4 separate regions of the Homo sapiens genome follow, and regions 1, 3 and 4 are each linked to region 2. Evidence: promoter capture Hi-C in 16 types of primary human blood cells and fetal thymus (Javierre and others, 2016). All regions are on one chromosome and are shown on one strand. The core of a region is centred on a gene start or on the middle of the fragment in contact, and the rest is flanking DNA. Distances in the headings are between cores, read along the strand shown.

Region 1 (3,394 bases), core at 608-3,107, 270 kb after region 2:
ACAGTCACTGTGCTCCTGTTAGGCACCTGGTACTATTCCAGATGTGGGAAGGTGACAGGCCAGCAGGAAGCAGGCCTTCATCAGTGGCTACCAGAGAGCAATGGAGGGTGTCTCCCTGGGTGGGGACAGGTGGGAAGCAGGCCCTAGATACCCGGGCCAGGCAGATGGAGGAGGTGGAGAAGCACTCTAACTTGAGGACAGGGTCCCAGCAGTGGCTCTTCGGGAACCAGGATTCAGAGCCCAGGAGGTCCCCTCACCTGGGTGCCCGTCCTCATCCGCATGATGGGGGCGCGGATCCTCACGGCCCTTAGCAGCAGCACCTCCACCTGCACGAGGTCCTGGGGAAACAGGGTGGCACTTAGGTGTGGGGATGCAGTGCTGGCCAGGGATGTTTCAGGAAGGGACCCCTCAAGGGAAGCAGGCTGCGGCTCAGAGTCTGTGGCGAGAAGGCCCCTCAGGATGACCAGCACCATGCTCCTCTGCCGAGGGAGGCCTGGCTTTGTGAGTGGCTCTCCCCTCATGGGCCAGCCACTGCCTCTCCCAAGGCCCCGCAGGTCCCAACCCAGTCCCCTGAGGCTGCTGCCCTGTCTGATCCAGCTGTTCCAGGTCAGCACTGCAGACTTGGGGCCGGGGACTGGTGCCTGCTCTTCCTTAGGCCTGGCTGCCCTCAAGCAAAAGGTCTCCAGGCCCTCCCAACCCCAAATCCAGCCTGCCTGTCTCTGACTGAGCAGGGTACAGGGACGAATGCAGGAGCCCTGTAGAGTCTGATCAGAACTTATAACCTCCTTCATTCTGAACTCCACACTCCTATTAATCTGGCCAAAGACTAACTCTCCTGGCTTCTTCCTAGTGCTGCTGAGTCATGCTGAACTGAGGCTATTAAAACCCTTAGACTCTCTGACGTGCTCAGGCTGAGCCCATCTTGAGGCTCATGACTTGGGCTAATGCCTGGCACACAGTAAGTGCTTGAAAAGCACCCATTCCCCTCCTTTCACTCATCTTTCTGCTCAGTCTCTTCCTGCTAGTCCTGGCCCACCCCACGGCCTTGGGGTGCTGGTTGTGTGCTCTGGATTGGACAGATGGAACTGGAAGCATCTGACCAGAATCACATTCCAGGCATGGACAAGGCGCCGCAGGTGAAACCTCTGCCTGCCTGGGCTCAGAACATGCCTTTCAGATAGGGCTCGTGGTGCAGCCCCTCCACCTGCCAAGGACCACCAGGGCCTTTCCCCAGCACCTCCCCAACCTGCCAGATGGGGGACCTAGAAGGGAGGGTGCCCAGCAAGGTTAGACCACAAAGACAAGGAATACGCAGGGCCCTGTGCCCCTCTTGCTGAATTTCTAGCCAGCTGCCCTTTACCTACGCCCTCAGGAGAAAAATCAGCCAGCTCCTGAGGCTGCACTCCTTTTTAGAGAAAAAAAACCACAGAGTCTCCTGTGGTCTGGAATGTCACGCTCCAGGAAGCCCATCTGAACCCTACCCCATCCCCAGGACAGGTTTTTACATCCCCAAGTCTTTCTCTTTGTCTTCATAATTGACACACACTGGGAAAAGGAGTAAATCAATGAACTCAATGACGGATCACAGTCAGCCTCTGAGAACAAGCATTTCCCTGCACCCCCTCTAGGGCGGTGCACTTGCCAGCTTCTGGGGTGCTGTGTTTACAGGTTCTGAACTCAGGACTGCACGGACTGCTTCCAGGGGACCTAGTTCTCATGAGGAATGGTATGACTGACTCTGAAACAGGTTTCTGTCCACAGTTGCATTACACATCACAGAAGGCTCTTCTTACAGACCAGGTTTCTGGCGCAGCTGTGAGTGGAACCCCAAAGCAGCCTTCCGAGATGCTTCTGCAAGTCACTGCTGGCGAAGGAGGTCAGGGAGAATGCAAAGGCCCTGATTTTAGCCCTGAGCCTTGAGAGGATTCAAGGAGATGAAGGCAAAGTGCTCAGAGCAGCATCTGCCTTCACCATGATTGCCATCATCCTCCACTGGAAGGGCCCTTTGGGGCCGGGAGTTGCTGAACACCCTGTCCCATAAGGAGCAGCTGGAAGGACTGGGAGACTCAGCTTGGAGAAGAACAACCAATGGGGGTCTGGGTGCTCCCATATTGGCAGGGCTGTCCTGCACCAGGGCCCCTGCAGTGACTGCAGACCCAGGGGGCAGAAGCAGCACCCTTGGAGAGGGGTGGTCCTCAGAGGTAGAACTCAAACACAGTAAAGAGGCTTCTGTCCCAGGCACAGCTGCCCAGTCTCCAATAGCACGCCTGTTACCTGAGAGATGATGACCACCTTGCCGGTCTCTGCATCCACTGCCTGCACGAGCCCAGACACAGTGCCGTTCCCGATGGCGAGGCCCTGTACCAGCCCAGCAGCGCTCACCAGCGCAACGCTCTCATTGCTGATGGAGAAAAGGATGTTGGACTGAGGCTGGGGGCCGCCCTCGGAGGTGACCTGAGCGGGGAGGAAACAGCGGCGTGTCAGTGCCCGTCATGCCAGGCAGCCCGCACCTCCCACTCAGAGAGCCAGGGCCCCAGTGCAGGCAGCTTCTGCCTTCTTCTCCCAGTCACTGCACGCAGGGCCAGAGGCGGCGTGCCTGGAACCAGGTGGTGGCCTGCACTGGGGCTGGAGCAGGACGTGGCCTCTTGGCTCTCACCTGCATCGTGGCCCCGATAAGCAGTGTCACCTTCCTGGGCATCAGCCTGAACGGGGGAAAGACCTGTTGAGAGACACAGGAGAGAAAGGACTACTGTGCCCCAAGCCCATGGCGCCAAGCATAACTCACACACTACATGTTTCATGAGAGGAAAACCTGGGACATGGACATCACTTCTCTCTGAGCAGTGACCAGAGGGCCCAGGGTCCTGGGCCAATGCTGGGGGCTGTCTCCCAGCCACTGGCCGAGGCTCCCTGGTTCTCTGGGGTGTGTTCTTCTGTTTGTGACTGTGTTTCACTTTCCCTAGATGTTAAAACCCAAAAGCTGGGCCGTCCCCTTGGAGGGATGGCTTTTATGCAGTTGAGCCATCCCCTTAGAGCAGCGGTTCTCAGTGTGTGGTCACTAAGCAGCAATGTCAGCAGCGCCTGGGGACACATTAGCAATGTACAGCCCCAGCCACCTGGCCTGTGGAGCCAGGGGTGGCCCCACAGGACAGCCCTGCCGATATGGGAGCACCCAGACCCCCAGAGGTTGCTCTTCTAGCACACCCTCCGGATTAGCCTGGGAGGAGACCAGGGACGTTGGTGCCACTCTTTGCAGCAGGTGAAGCCCCCACCTGCTCCTCCTGAAACCCCTACAAGAGCCTGCCTGGCAAGAGTAGGTGAGTGGACGCAGGAGGTGGCCAGGGTGCTACTTGTGTGGGAGTATCGGTCTCTGTAGCTGTGCTATTGATGGGCA
Region 2 (3,091 bases), core at 262-2,761:
GCAGCAGAGGCAGAGGTGTGTTTACTTTCCCTCAGTGGAGGTGACGGGGAGCTGCCACTCTATCAGGGGTTCCACAGGCCCCTGCCATGGTAAGGGGCCTCCATCGATTAGGGAGGCCTTGGGGTAGCCCCCAGAAGGCTCCCCACATACTGCTCCAGGCCTCCTTTTCCTAGCCTTGCGACTGAGCCCAGCTCAAGAGGACTCAGCCATGCTCTCTAACCTCCTAAGGTCTGAGGTCACTGCACAGCCCCAAATGAGTGGGTCCTGGGCAAATAGTTTAGGCAGGTGGAGACCTGACGCTGGGCCTCAACCCCCGCAGCCGAGGGTCCCAGAGGAGGGCAAAGGTTGCTCCTCCTAGAACAGCACAGTGCAGCGCCCAGAGAGCTGTGAGGGAAGCTGGCATTCGAACCCCACTGCCCCCTGGGAAGCCTGGCTAACCGAAGCGCAGGCTTTGGTTTCCATAAATACCCGGGCCCGTGATGTCACCGCCCCGTGCAGACTTTCACAGCCTCTGCTGCTGGCGTGAGGCCCAGCACACAGCCGCTCTGCTGCCAGCCCACAGAACACCTGGGCACACAGCTGGACACTGATGCCTCCGTGCTAGGGACGGTGGGCTGGACCTTCACCTGCCCTTGGAGGACGCAGCATCCTGGCCACTGCCTCAGCCTGCCTGCGACCTTCTATCAGGCATGGCTGAAGGGCTGGCCATGGGCGTGCTGGGCAGAGATTCTCTTCCTAAACAGGCTATGGGCTAAACCAAAGCCAAAACAGTAGGAGCCGGTCTGGGCACCCTGAATGTGGATCTGGGAGGGGGGATACCTGCTCTCACAGTTGGGAATTTCACAGCCTGCTGAAGACCTGCTGACTAATAGCCTTTTTCTCATCGTCATCACCAACAAACACCTCCGCTGCAGGGGCCGAGCGCCGGCATCCCTGCTGGGTGGCCAGCTCCCTCTGCAAGTCACCTGCACATCCACCTGCCCCTCCCCCAACGATGCCCCTCACTCCAGCTCCCAGCTCAGCCGGGCCCCTCTGGCCTCTGGCTTCAGGCAGAAACCTGCCACATATACTCACAAATAGCGTCTTCTGCAAGCCATCCTGTGTGAATCCGTTCTTCCCTGTTCTGGCTCCCTCTCCAGCGGGGAGGCTCAACGTGTTTCCAAGAGGAGCAGGCGGCTCAGGCAAGAAGTGGAGGGGAATAAAATTAAATCGCGGGGCGAGTCACATTCCCGGGGGTGGCGGGCTCCTCCAGGGAGGCTGGGGCGGGAGCGGGGGGCGGCGCCAGCAGCGGGCTGTGGAGGGCCCTGGCACGTAGCGCGCGCTCACACCGTGCCCAGGAGCGAGCGAGGACGTCGAGTAACCGTGGTCGCCAGGCTGGGCGGGGGCGTCCACCTCGCTGCTACCTGGGCCCACCTTGGGGTTTTTCCCTCCCGTCCATCCGGGGTGCGGGGCGCGGGGATGAGGAGGGGAGGGTCGAGAGAAGGCTGCCCCGGGTTTGCTCTCGCAGCATCCGGAGAAGGGGCGGGCGCGCCGGAGCCTCCCCCACCCCCCGCGCCCAAGGAGCAACGTAGTGCGGCCGCGCCGGACCAATCGCCGAGGCGCTGGTCGCCATGGCAACAGCAGCATCAGGCGCGGCCGCTCGGCTGCGCCCTCGCGGCAAAGTCACACACCCGGCGGGGCGCGGGGCGCCGGCCCCTTCCTGGCCCGCGCTGGAAACCTGGAAGTCTGTTGCTAAAATGCACGCGCCGCGCGGAGCCTACGATGACACTACTTTCCAAGGCGGCTTTTCTGCCTTCGGCACTGAGACACGCGAGCCGCGGAGCTCTCGGGGCTCTGGCCCTGGAGTGAGGCCGGCCGACTCCAAGGCTGTCTCTGCCACTGAAGGGCGATGAGACCTTGGCAAGCCGCGTCTCTCCTGGGAGTCTTGATTATGCTACTGTGAAAGGGATCATAACAGCTATACCACGGGGTTCCAGGAGGGCGCACCACGCCAGTAGCTGCACGGTGGATGGCAGAGCAGTCCTCGTTTGTGCCAGTCCTGTCCCAAAGGGGGCTGCACGTGGCTAGGGAGAATTTCTGGTCTAGCTATGGTGCCTCTTCCTCTCCCGAGGACCTTCCATGTGCCGGGCAAGTATCTGCCCTCATGATGTTTACAGTCTAAGGGGAAGCCAGGAAGTAAGTGTGCAGATATAGGATTGCACGTGGTGATAAGGATCAGGATGAAAAGAGAGCAGGAAGAGGGGAGGCAGGGACCCCAAGAGAGGCGGGAAGGAGGCTTCTGCCATCAGACGGGGTGGTCGGGAAGGCCCTCTGTGAGGCACGTGTGGCTGAGACTCGGATGACGCAAGAAGCAGGGGAGGAGCTGGCGTCAAGGCTCTGAGGCGGAAGGCAGCCTGGTGTATTTGACTGGCCCAGAGGAGGCCAGCGTGGTGCAGTGTGCGACAGGGAGGTGGAGGGGAGAAGCGCACATCCATCCTCGGCTCCCACACCCGCCTTTCCCACACAGATTTCTCTCTTCCTGTCTGATGTTCATCTGATCCTCTCTGCTTCCTCATCTGTAAACCAGGAATCCCAGACCTATCTCAGAGGCATGTAGATAATATTCTTCCGTGCACGGTAATCCTCAAGACAACCCCAATGAGGCCTAATACTATCATCCTACTTCACGGGGGAGCGCATTAAAGCCAGAGGTTCAGCAACTGGCCCAAGCCACATAGCTGGCGGGCAGTCTGGCTCCAGAGTCTTGGTTCTTGACTGCTTGAAAGCTGCCTCACTGGGAGGAATAAATGAGAGAGGGAGTAGTTGAGACTGGGAATCGGCTGGATGTGGATGGCAGCCCACAGGGCCATTTCCCTTCCTCTTTCCATTCTCTCCAGATTCACACTCACCGAATTTAGAAGGAGTGATGCTGCATCCTTGAGTTCCATTCCATCCTTTACAGGGGAGGAAATGAACCTCAGGGGGTGAGCGATTTGCCTAAAGTTGCACAGCAAAGAGTGGCAGAGGTGGGACTAGGACCCCAGTCTTCCAGCTCAGTGTCCTGGTAGGGAGCAGAGGTTGGAGCTGCGGCCTCAGGTGGCCAAGGTGAGGC
Region 3 (3,093 bases), core at 245-2,744, 290 kb after region 2:
GGCTTCTGCCCTGGCTGGGTGACCTTGGATACATTTCCTCACACGTTCATTCTAAACAAAACCACCCTTGGTTGATGTCTGCTCTGTGCCAGGCACTGAACCCAGGGCTAGGGGTTCAGAGATAAAAGATCCTAACATCGCCAGGCACGGTGGCTCACGCCTGTAATCCCAGCACTTTGGGAGGCTGAGGTGGGAGGATCATCTGAGGTCGGGAGTTCGGGACCAGCCTCACTAACATGGAGAAACCCTGTCTCTACTAAAAATACAAAATTAGCCGGGGATGGTGGTGCATGCCTGTAATCCCAGCTACTCAGGAGGCCGAGGCAGGAGAATCGCTTAACCCTGGAAGGCAATGGTTGCGGTGAGCAGAGATGGCGCCATTGCACTCCAGCCTGGGCAACAAGAGTGAAACTCTGTCTCAAAAAAAATAAACAAATAAAAGAAAAAGAAAAAGAAATCCTAACATCACCAGGCTTGCTTCCAATGAATGCCTGAGAGGAAGAAAAAAATGGGACAAACCATGAGGACCGGAGCTGTCTTCAAGGCTGACACTGGGAGCAGAAAAATGCAAGGACTGCCTGACCAAGCCAGGGAGTCTGGGGCTCCCCTAGGACTGCTCTCCAGCCCTCCCTGGAAGGAGGAGCAGGAACTCCCCATCAACAAACCCTCTCTGCGCCTCCTGCAAGCTAGGCAGAGTTCAAAGAAAGGAATGATTAGTCAGCAGCCTCCTGCATGGCAGCCCTCGCACGGAGCCTTCACACCCACCCCAGAGGAAGGCCCAGTTCTTTTTTATCCGTGTATAATAACTAACCCTTCCTGAGCCTGCACTACCCCCTAGACTGTGTTCTGAGCTCATTCCATTTGTGAGCTCAGCAAATCCTCATCACGACCCCATGAGGCAAGAGCTGTCTCAGTCCCATTTTACAGGCAGGGAATGTAAGGCCCAAGAGTGGGTGGGGGTCAGGCTGGTCTCAGCTCAGGAGGGTGGTATGGACACTGAGGCTATGTGGTCTGCTCCGCACAGGCCGTGGCCACCACTGTCCTCAGATGGGGAGCAGGATGGATGCACACTAGGCCAGGGCAGATCCTCTCTGACCCCAGTCTTGGAGGCCTCAGCATCTGCCATACCACACGGCCGCTGTCCTAATTCTAGGGCTCTGTGGGGACCCTGAAGGTTAGCTCTGGAGTGGAGCAGAAGCACTCCCCTGTTCTGACCCTTGCTGAACACACTTCTGAAGCCCTTGCAGCCCACACTCCTACCTTCGTTGGGAGAGGCTGGCAGGTCGGTGTCCTGCCAAGCCTGCCAAGCGCTGTCTCGCGTAACCACAGAGATGCCCACAACCACTGCCCCATCAGGGAGGCTCTGCTCCTTCCACATGAATCCTGCTTTCAGCCAGAAATCATGGGAGAGGAAGCTGTGCCAAAAGCTATTTTGAAGGAATCGGGTTTATCATGCAAATTCGTCAGAGCAAATGGGTAATTTGCATCTGGGAAGGAGTGGGCAGGGGGGTGGTAAAGGGCAGGGCCCCTGGCTCACCTTGAGGGGCAGGTAGGCAGCAATGGTGATCTTGGCACTCAGGTGGACGTGGCCGTGTCTGTAGCTCACAAGAAGCGTGGTAGAGCCCTGGGCCTCGGCCTTTACCCGGATGCCGCTGCAGTGCTCAGAGCCTGGCGGCAGCCTCCCTACAGAAAGGAGAGAACTAGATGGTCACCCTGAAATCACTTTTTTCTTTTTTTTGAGATGGAGTCTCGCTGTGTTGCCCAGGCTGGAGTACAGTGGCATGATCTTGGCTCACTGCGACCTCCGCCTCCGGGGTTCAAGTGATTCTCCTGCCTCAGCCTCCCAGATAGCTGGGACTACAGGCATGGACCACTACACCCGGCTAATTTTTGTATTTTTTTTAATAGAGACGGGGTTTCATCATGTTGGCCAGGCTGGTCTTGAACTCCTGACCTCAAGTGATCAATCTGCCTCAGCCTCCCAAAGTGCTGGGATCACAGGTGTGAGCCACTGTGCCCAGCCCTGAAATCACCTTTGGTGGGGAAGGCACAACAGGCTGGGGGCCCCCTCTTTCATCCCAGGCTTGATCCTTGATCTGATTTCTTTCTTTTTTTTTTTTTTTTTTTGAGATAGAGTCTCACTCTGTCTCCCAGGCTGGAGTGCAGTGGTGCTATCTCAGCTCACTGCAAGCTCCACCTCCCGGCTTCAAGCGATTCTCCTGCCTCAGCCTCCCGAGTAGCTGGGATTAGAGGCATGCGCCACCACGCCCAGCTAATTCTTTGTATTTTTAGTAGAGATGGGGTTTCACCATATTAGCCAGGATGATCTCAATCTCCTGACCTCATTATCCACCCCCCTCAGCCTCCCAAAGTGCTGGAATTACAGGCATGAGCCACCGCACCCGGCCCTGATTTTTAAAAAAATATTTAATTCAGCCAGGCACGGTGGCTCACGCCTGTAATCCCAGCACTTTGGGAGGCTGAGATGGGCGGATCACCTGAGGTCAGGAGTTTAAGACCAGCCTGACCAACATGGAGAAACCCTGTCTCTACTAAAAATACAAAAAATTAGCCAGGTGTGGTGGCGCATGCCTGTAATTCCAGCTACTCCGGAGGCTGAGACGGGAGAATCACTTGAACCCAGGAGGCAGAGGTTGCAGTGAGCCGAAATCGCACCATTGCACTCCAGCCTGGGCAATAAGAGTGAAACTCTGTCTCAAAAGAAAAATAAAAATGTTTAATTCACGGCCGGGCATGGTGGCTCACACCTGCAATCCCAGCACTTTGGGAGGCTGAGGTGGGAGGATCACCTGAGGTCGGGAGTTTGAGACTAGCCTGACCAACATGGAGAAATCCCGTCTCTATTAAAATACAGAATTAGCCGCGTGTGGTGGCGCCTGTCTGTAATCCCAGCTACTTGGGAGGCTGAGGCAGGAGAATTGCTGGAACCTGGGAGGCGGAGGTTGCAGTGAGCCGAGAACGCACCATTGCACTCCCACGTAGGCAACGAGGGAGCAAAACTCAGTTAAAGAAAAATAAATAATATTTAATTCACATGAGTATATAATTCACAATGATTTTTCCACATACTGG
Region 4 (3,322 bases), core at 480-2,979, 390 kb after region 2:
TATTGAAGTAATGTGTCCATCAGTGGCAAGTGACAGAAAATCCAGCTCAAACTGGTACAGAGTTTACTGACTCGGAGAACTGGCTTCAGGCCCAGCTCAAACAATGCTGGGACCCTGTCTTCCTCACATGCCTGTCTCTGACTCTCTGTGGTGGCCACGTGTGGATTAAATGCCCACCCCTGGAGAACCTCCTGGATTGAGGGGAACAGCTGGTTCCCTGAGGACAGGTGCTGGGCTGGCAATTCCACCGACTCCCACCATTCTAGGGTTCTGGATGGTGGGAACCAAATGAAGTCTGCTCATCCCTGACCGCAGAGGCATCTCCAAGGCCCAAGTCAAGGTGAGAAAGATTCCACCTAAGCTGATGACTTTGATCACCCTAGATCAGCCAGGTCTCCTCCCAAATGGGATACCTGTCGGTGGGAACGTGAAAGTCCAGTCGGTCTAAGGGAATCGCTCCAGCTCTTTCTGACGTCAAGCCCAGGCATGACTGTTTCCCAAGACTGCACAAATTTTTTTCCTGAAGCATCAAATTCCTTATCAGTTCGTAGCAGTCCAAATTCAGATTCTTGATGGGATTTCACTTTATGGAAGGATTCTGTGAAAAATAGATAGCCTTGGGCTTTTCTTACAAATGTCTTTCCAATTGCACTGTTATCTCTATTTCCCATAATATTTGGTAGAATGTGTTGTATAACCTGCTTATAGCAGGTTCTTAATAAATGTTCGAGTTTATTGCAAACTTTGCAGTCTATAAAGGGATTTAAATTATGTCCTTTCACTAATCTTTTTTTTGAGACAGGGTCTGGAGTGCAATGGCATGATCACGGCTCACTGCAGCCTTGCCCTCCTGGGCTCAAGGGATCCTTCCACCTCGGCCTCCTGAATATAGCTGGGACTACAGGCCTGTGCCACCATGCCTGGCTAATTTTTGTATTTTTTGGTAGAGACGGGGTATCCCCATGCTGTCCAGGCTGGCCTCAAACTCCTAGGCTCAAGCAATCCTCCTGCCTCTGCCTCCCAAAGTATTGGGATTACAGGGTGAGCCACTGCCTCCGGTCTCTTTCGCTAGTCTTGAGAGAGAACTAATTAGTCCTGAGAGATGACCAGTCAGTGATTAATATATCCATTTTCTACTCTGGGCAACTGAGGTTCAGAGAGGTGAACTGACTTGCCCAAGATCACACAGGCTGGGTGGCAGTTCTGGGATTCACACTCAGGACTGCCTCACCCTCAAGCTGTGCTGTGTATGCTTCATCAGGCTGCCTCCGCACAGCAGATGGAACAGAATTTTTCCATGTGGGGTAGGATTGTCAGATAAAATACAGGATGCCTAGTTAAATTTGAATTTCAGATACCAAAAAAAATTTTTGGTATAAGTATATCTCAAATACACTTACTGCATGGGACACACTTATACTAAAAAATGGTGTTGCTTACTGAAATTCAAATGTAACTCAGTATCTTGCATTTTTATTTGCTAAGCCTAGTGACCCTAATTTAGAGGAGAAACCGTAATTTAATGGTCACTGAAGCCCCTAGAGTGACAGAGGTTTCCCAAGATCACACGGGGAGTTAGTGGCAAATCCAGGATTGGACCCAGTCTTCCTGTTCCCCAGTCCCAACCCTCTTGGGGTGGTTGTGAAGCCCTCTGAAGTCCCTGGAGCAGGCATGGTGGTAAGAACAGCTGCTTTCTCTCTGCAGAGGCTGTCCACATGGCCCATCCTCTCCCCAGCTGTCCCACTGGGCAAAACCAAGAAGTGAATCCCTGCATGGAAGAGATGAGAAGAGCGAGGTCACAGCAATTTAGAGAAGATGGTGTTGATTGAGATTTCCAGACAGGGAGCACGGGCTGCTCAGGAAGCAGCTAATTAAGCAGGAGACTCCAATTAAGAAGCAATTTGGGTCTTTGCAGCAAGACCCAGCAGCCACCCAAGTGTAGCAGAGAAAACCACAGGCTCGGGTTCTTGCTCCCCACATTAGCTGACTGTGAGATCTCAGGCCAGCTATTGAGCCTCCCTGGACATCTGTTTTTTTTGACTATGAAATGAGGGGTCATGCTGCTTAATATTGAAGGACCCTGCTGACTTCAAAGTGGGCAATTCCAGGGAGTGGGAGGATTCTTTCCCTCCAATGCTGGAACATTTTCCACTGCATTCTAGTGTCTTTATCACCCTCTTTGCATTCCACTGAAGGCCAATTATTCTCTCAGTTGTAGTGGATTTGAATTCTAGTCTATAAACTAATTTGCGCACAAATCGTACCTTTCTTTATTTTTTATATCCTATCTTAATTTCTCTTTCCAGATCTTATTCCTGTAGGGTGGCAACTCAATATTTCCCTTCTTCCTATTTCTAGGATGCGCCTACACTCTCCAGGGATTAAATGTGGTGCTAAGTCATGGGTGGGAGGGGTCAGTAGCCTCCACTGAGGTATCCTCGGTACCATCTGGGCCTCAGGAGTGGTCTTTGCTGGTTGTCACGGAGATCACATTCCCATCTGCCGAGGATGCAGCCTGGCACAGTGGCTCATTCCAGCACTTTGGGAGGCTGAGGTGGGCAGATCACCTGAGGTCAGGAGTTCAAGTCCAGCCTGGCCAACATGGCAAAACTCCATCTCTACTAAAAATACAAAAATTAGCTGGGCATGGTGGCACGCACCTGTAGTCCCTGCTACTCAGGAGGTGGAGACAGGAGAATTGCTTAAACCCGGGAGGCGGAGGTTGCAGTAAGCCACTGCACTCCAGCCTGGGAAACAGAGCAAGACTCTGTCTCAAAACAAACAAACAAACACACTTCTTATTTTTATCCCTTAGTGCAAGTATCAGCCTGGAGCCAGCCAGGAAAACACAAAGCTCTCTCATGGAATTTAATACAGGGAATTGGTTGCTCTGGTGGTGGAGGCAGTGGCAGTGAGGTTAGAGGGATTAGTTCAGCAGGAGGCCACTCCCATTCCTAGGAATAAAGAGAAGGTAATAGGTGTGACCCAGGAGTTGGGGTGCCCCGTAGGAGCTAGAGCCGTAGGAAGGGTCTTTCTGGTAGGCGATGGGACCACCGAAGTTCCCAGGGGGACAAGGCAGAGCTGAAGCCACAGAGGAGAAGACCCTCCCTCTGCTGGAGATGTCAAAGGGCACCCAGGGGAGAAATGCCCTGCTTTATCCTCTCTTCTCACCCTCTAGCGTTCCAGCACCAGTGGCCACTGACTGAATAAGAAGCCAGAGGACAAGGGCAGGGCAGAAGTGGACCCGAGTGCCTGTGGGCAGTTGACCAGCATGCTATGTGTGGCTTTTATAAGTAACAAGGGTCAGTGTTTACTTATAAAC

Evidence for each region. The method cuts DNA at HindIII sites, captures the fragments that hold promoters and counts their contacts. A CHiCAGO score of 5 or more calls a contact.
Region 1: a fragment that was not itself captured here is called in contact with the fragment with the promoter of IQSEC1 in region 2 in 2 of 17 cell types (naive B cells and total B cells); the score reaches 6.3 in naive B cells.
Region 3: a fragment that was not itself captured here is called in contact with the fragment with the promoter of IQSEC1 in region 2 in 1 of 17 cell types (naive B cells); the score reaches 6.9 in naive B cells.
Region 4: a contact is called between a fragment that was not itself captured here and the fragment with the promoter of IQSEC1 in region 2, in 8 of 17 cell types (total B cells, naive B cells, M2 macrophages and 5 more). The highest score is 10.7, in total B cells.

Annotation. Positions count from the first base shown.
Region 1 is chr3:13,337,580-13,340,973 of GRCh38, forward strand. NUP210 (nucleoporin 210) reads right to left here. Exons shown (of 40, transcript NM_024923.4): 24 at 2,657-2,719; 25 at 2,275-2,454; 26 at 258-338. Among named protein-coding and RNA genes, the nearest start is that of NUP210, 81 kb to the right of the region's middle. The HindIII fragment of the contact is 3,961 bases long and covers 1-3,394 here.
Region 2 is chr3:13,071,918-13,075,008 of GRCh38, forward strand. It overlaps IQSEC1 (IQ motif and Sec7 domain ArfGEF 1), which reads right to left and starts at 1,512. Exons shown (of 14, transcript NM_001134382.3): 1 at 1,075-1,512. The coding sequence starts at 1,097. RefSeq lists silencers at 1,428-1,587, 1,708-1,887. The HindIII fragment of the contact is 20,266 bases long and covers 1-3,091 here.
Region 3 is chr3:13,364,409-13,367,501 of GRCh38, forward strand. It overlaps NUP210 (nucleoporin 210), which reads right to left. Exons shown (of 40, transcript NM_024923.4): 14 at 1,538-1,683. Among named protein-coding and RNA genes, the nearest start is that of NUP210, 54 kb to the right of the region's middle. The HindIII fragment of the contact is 7,208 bases long and covers 1-3,093 here.
Region 4 is chr3:13,463,717-13,467,038 of GRCh38, forward strand. No RefSeq gene overlaps it. Among named protein-coding and RNA genes, the nearest start is that of HDAC11-AS1, 15 kb to the right of the region's middle. The HindIII fragment of the contact is 3,587 bases long and covers 1-3,322 here.